Regions from separate parts of the Homo sapiens genome. Here region 1 is linked to region 2. The links are contacts of gene promoters, found by promoter capture Hi-C in human tissues and cell types (Jung and others, 2019). All regions are on one chromosome and are shown on one strand. The core of a region is centred on a gene start or on the middle of the fragment in contact, and the rest is flanking DNA. Distances in the headings are between cores, read along the strand shown.

Region 1 (2,700 bases), core at 8-2,507, 36 kb before region 2:
AGACATGCAGATCATCTGAGGTCAGGAGTTTGAGACCAGCCTGGCCAACATGGCGAAACCCTGTCTCTACTAAAAATACAAAAATCAGTTGGACGTAGTGGCACGCATCTGTGATACCAGCTACTTGGGAGGCTGAGGCAGGAGAACTGCTTGAACCCGGAAGGCAGTGGTTGCAGTGGGCCAAGATCACGCCACTGCACTCCAACCCGGGCGACAGAACAAGAATTCATCTCAAAAAAAAAAAAAAAAAAAAAATCAGTCGGGCCTGGTGGCACAGCCCTGTAATCCCAGCTACTCAGGAGGCTGAGGCAGGAGAATCACTTGAACCTGGGAGGCAGAGGTTGCAGTGAGCCGGGACTACACCACTGCACTCCAGCCTGGGTGATGTAGTGAGACTCCATCTCAAAAAACAAACAAACAAAAATACACACACAAAATTAAGTGATATGTGATTTTAAAAAACTATAATTAAGAGATTAAGAAGAACAATACTTTTTAAAAAGGCTTCTGGGTTTACAAAACTTTACCAAATAGCTATTTCAGCATAGTCTTGTATTGTCTTTATAATGCAGCTGAGGACTGGAACAAAAGTCACTTACTGCCAATTCATCCTATAAACTTAGGAAACACTGGAATGATCACAAACCCAGATAACGACAGGTGTAGAGATCTGCTTAGACCATCATTCAAATGCACCCGAGTATGCTTGTGACTCTTACCCTAAATATTGCAATGCAAGCCAGGTGAGTAAGAGATAGAAGTAGGAGAACTTTCTGAGGCTTCCAACCACACAAACTGCTAACTTCCTCTCAGAGTTGTCTTCATAGAACACATGGAAATATAGCTTAAGATATATATTTCCCTTATTGTAATAAATCTACATTTTTTTTTTTGAAAATTTGGCCTTGCTGAACAAGATTGGAGTACCCACAATAACCTGTCAGTATCCTATAAAAAGCTAACTTATCATACTGAATTTGGGTGTTTGACAAACTTTTAGTTTTGCCATAAAATAAATGTATTCATTGCTGGGCGCAGTGAGAGAAATGAAAACGTGTCCACATAAAAACCAGTAAACAAATGTTTATAGTGGCTTTATTTATAATAGCCAAAAAGTGAAAACAGGTCACAAATCCATCAACTGATGAATGAATAAACAAAATGTGGTATAATAGATTATTTTTATTGCTACAAACGTTGAACTAGCAAATCCTGAACCTTTGCTCCTAGAGGAAAACACACGGTTAGGTTCCTGTGAGCCTCTAGTCACATTTTTGTCAGTAGATCATCAGTACACACCTTCTTTTTTATGTGTTTCTGATGAAAGACACCTTATTTATTTACTTATTTTAAATTTCAATAGCCTTAGGGATACAGTAGTTTTGGGTTACACAGATGAATTATATAGTGTTAACACCTTACTTAAAATATATGTAAGGCCAGGCGCGGTGGCTCACGCCTGTAATCCCAGCACTTTGGGAGGCCAAGGCGGGAGGATTCATTAACATGTCAAACAGCCTGAACAAAGCTTATTTAATATATTTTCCTCTAAAGTACAGCATAGCTTTCTAGCTCTTGGAAACAGGAGACAGCACTTCAGCATTATACTTGAAGGCCAATCACCAATAAAAAACACAAAGGCAAATCCATAGACAGAAAGTAGATTACGTGGCCAGGTGCAGTGGCTCACACCTGTAATTCCAACACTTTGGGAGGCCAAGGCACAAGGATCGCTTGAGCTCAGGAGTTTGAGTCCAGCCTGGGCAACAAAGTGAGACTTCATCTCTACAAATAATTTAAAAACTGGTCACAGGCATGGTGGCATGTGCCAGTGGTTCCAGCTACTTGGGAGGCTGTAGTGGGAGAATTGCTTGAGCCCAGGTGGTCGAGGCTGCGATGAGCTGTGACTGTACCACTGCACTCCAATCTGGGTGACAAAGTCAGACTCCATCTCAAGGGAAAAATAAAAAAGTAGATTAGGGACTGGGGAAAGGAAAAATAGACAGTAATTGTTAATGGGTATGGGGTTTCTTTTCGGAGTGATATAAATATTCACTGCACTGTGTGCAGTGATGGTTATAAAACCTTGTCAACATACTAAAAACTATTAAATTGTATACCTTAAAGAAGTAGGGTAGGGCCAGGTGCAGTGACTCACACCTGTAATCCCAGCACTTTGAGAGGCCAAGGCAGGAAGATCACCTGAGGTCGGGAGTTCGAGACCAGCCTGACCAACATGGAGAAACCCCATCTCTACTAAAAATACAAAATTAGCCGGGCATGGTGGCACATGCCTGGTAATCCCAGCTACTCAGGAGGCTGAGGCATAAGAATCACTTGAACCCAGGAGGCGGAGGTTGTGGTGAGCCGAGATTGTGCCATTGCACTCCAGCCTGGGCAACAAGAGCCAAACTCTGTCTCAAAAAAAAAAAAAAATGGAGGTAGGGTATGTGAATTATATCTCAACAAAGCCATTTACAAAAAAAGCGGCCGGGTGCACTGGCTTACGCCTGTAATCCCAGCACTCTGAGAGGCCAAGGCAGGTGGATCACTTGAGGTCAGGAGTTCAAGACCAGCCTGGACAACATGGTGAAATCTCTTCTCTATTAAAAAATACAAAAATTAGCCAGGCGTGGTGCCACACACCTGTAAGCCCAGCTACTTGGGAGGCTGAGGCAGGAGAATTGCTTGAACCCGGGA
Region 2 (2,828 bases), core at 1-2,500:
ACTATGTCTCTCCCTCTCCTAACTAAACTCAAAACCCCAGTTCGGTCTATCTTGTTTATTGTATTCCCAGGGCCTGGAATGGTATTTTTAAACTTACTATATGATTTAATAAATATTAAGTGAATAGAATGCAAAATGTCTGGTGCTCAAAAAAATGTTGGCTATTATAATTACAATAATGAAAAACAATTAAAATTTTATTGTTCTTATTCAGAGAAGCCACCCCTCCCCCAAGGATCTCACACATCAAGGAGGAACACTAGATAAATACTGGAATGGCTAAATGGAAGTAAGAATAACAATTAGATCATGGAGCAGGACTAACAGACAACAAAACAAAATCTTAACACGGCTAGAGCCTAATTTCGGACTTTTCCGAGTGCGGTGCACACTGGATCAGATTAATAAAGGACGATTACAATAATGACAGTTTTCACAATTGTGTGTGTGCCACGGTCGGTGTCAAGCGTTTTACTGGCCTCACAAAACCCAAGAACCCTGGGGGAGGGAGGGAACCCGCTCCACATCCCCATTTTGCAGATGGGGGAACTGAGGCACCGGGAGAGCCAAGGTCACTACCTAAATGGGGAAGCCTGGATGTGAACCCAGGTAGCCAACTACTGAGCCTGCGCTCAAACAGGCCCTCCGAGGGGCCATTCTCATCTCCTCCAACCCTCAACATCGGGCGGGTGTAGTATTTCCCCAGGAGCCGGACTTCGTGGCCCCAGCGCTGGGACAACAAAATGATTCTTGCCCGCCGGCAAGTCCCATGGACGCCGGCCCGGCCTAAGTTCCGAGGCCGCGGGCCCCACAATTTCCCTCACACCGTGAGCCCCGAGCTCTTCGGGCGGCGCAGGAAGCGACGGGGTGGCCTCAGGAGCCCGGGAAGGCCCGCCCCGCTGCGTGACCTTGGATCCGCCGCCCCGCTTCGGGCCTCAGTTTCCACTCCCGGCCTCGCGCCCGGGGCACTCGGAATCACCGCGCCTGCGGAGCCGCAGGCCCTCACACGCCCCCCTCGGCCGCCCGCATTCACGCCCCACTTACGCTGGAAGGCGGCCGCTCCAGGGACGCCTACCATCGCCGAGCGCCGCCGCCGCGCGCCGCCCGCCTCTACCCGCGACACGGGTCCCTCGCAGGCGCCGCCCGCCTCGACCCGCGGCCCGGGTCCCTCGCAGGCGTCGCCGCGAGATCTGCAGCCGCCGAGCTAACCAGACACCACCACCGCTGCTGTCGCCGTCGCCGCCGCCGCCGCCGCCGTTAGGCCGCGCCCCGCCCCGCCCCCGGCTGGCCCCGCCCCGCCCGCCGGGCACGCCCCCGCCGCGCGCTCTCGCCGCCAGGCCAACGCACGCGGAAGCCCGGCCCCAAGACCAGCTCCCATTAAGCACCGCCCCCTAACCTGACCCGCCCCTTCCGCGGGAACCGACCGCCGAATCCCGGCGCAGCCTGCTTCTCAGACCTGCCCCCTCGGCGTCACGCGCGCCCGTCACGCGCACGGCCCACTTTCTAGCTCCAGACTTCCCGGTGTAGCCAGGGCAGTGGCCCAGGCTCGGGGGCCGAGTGCTAGGGGGAGGGATTACAACGAGTGGCAACGTCTCACCTGAGTTCTCCAGGTACAGGCCTGATGGCTTTTGCGCATGCCTTTGAGCGAGCCCCCTGGCTCAAAGTGTTTTTGGCCTGAAGTATTCTAAATGCCTAAAATTTCATCATCGTAATTTTAATAACTGTTGGCCGGGCGTGGTGGCCCACGCCTGTAATCCTAGTACTTTGGGAGGCCAAAGGAGAGTCACTTGAGCTCAGGAGTTTGAGACTAGCGTCTCTATTAAAAAAATAAATAAATAAAAATAAAAAATAGACCAGGCACGGTGGCTCAGGCCTATAATCCTAACACTTTGGGAGGCCGAGGAGGGTGGATTACCTGAGGTCAGAACTTCGAGGCTAGTCTGGCCAATGTGGCGAAACGCTGTCTCTACTAAAAATACAAAACTTAGAGCCGGGCGCAGTGGCTCAAGCCTGTAATCCTAGCACTTTGGGAGGCCGAGGCGGGAGGATCACGAGGTCAGGAGTTTGAAGACCAGTCTGGCCTATAAGGTGAAACCCTATCTCTACTAAAAAAATAAATAAATAAAAATACAAAAATTAGCCTGGTGCGGTGGCGCGTGCCTTTAGTCCCAGCTACTCGGGAGGCTGGGGCAGGAGAATCACTTGAATCCGGGAGGGGGAGGTTGCAGTGAGCCGAGATCGGAGCCATTGCACTCCAGCCTGAGCAAAAAGAGCAAAACTCCGTATCAAAAAAACAAAACAAGGCCAGGAGCTGTGGCTCACCCCTGTAATCCCAGCACTTTGGGACGCCGAAGCTGGCAGATCACAGCTCAGGATTTGGAGACCAGCCTGACCAACGTGGTGAAACCCCGTCTGTACTAAAAATACAAAAATTAGCTGGACTTGGTTTCACAAGCCTGTAATCCCAGCTAATCAGGAGGCTGAGACAGGAGAATTGCTTGAACCCCGGAGGCGGAGGTTGCACCGAGCCAAGATCACGACACTGCACTCCCACCTGGGTGACAGAGCGAGACTCCCTCTCAAAAAACAAAACAAAACAAAACAAAAAAATTAGCTGGGCGCGGTGGCGGGTGTCCATAATCCCAGCTACTCGGGAGGCTGAGGCAGGAGAGTCGCTTGAACCTGGGAGGCAGAGGTTGCAGTGAACCGAAATCGCGCCACTACACTCTAGCCTGGGCAACAGAGGGAAGCTCCGTCTGAAAAGAAAAGAAAAGAATAAAGACTCTTGTTTCTCAGTATTATTTCAGATATCTCACACCAAGAATATA

The links. The method cuts DNA at HindIII sites, captures the fragments that hold promoters and counts their contacts. A contact is called where the count stands out against the background at its distance.
Region 1: a fragment that was not itself captured here is called in contact with the fragment with the promoter of CBFA2T2 in region 2 in 1 of the 25 tissues and cell types used here (ovary).

What each region holds. Positions count from the first base shown.
Region 1 is chr20:33,524,924-33,527,623 of GRCh38, reverse strand. All of the region lies in intron 1 of CBFA2T2 (CBFA2/RUNX1 partner transcriptional co-repressor 2), which reads right to left. Among named protein-coding and RNA genes, the nearest start is that of CBFA2T2, 36 kb to the right of the region's middle. The HindIII fragment of the contact is 6,967 bases long and covers 1-2,700 here.
Region 2 is chr20:33,488,518-33,491,345 of GRCh38, reverse strand. CBFA2T2 (CBFA2/RUNX1 partner transcriptional co-repressor 2) reads right to left here and starts at 1,250. Exons shown (of 11, transcript NM_001032999.3): 1 at 1,045-1,250. The coding sequence starts at 1,078. RefSeq lists silencers at 931-1,210, 1,221-1,440 and an enhancer at 1,535-2,083. The HindIII fragment of the contact is 17,917 bases long and covers 1-2,828 here.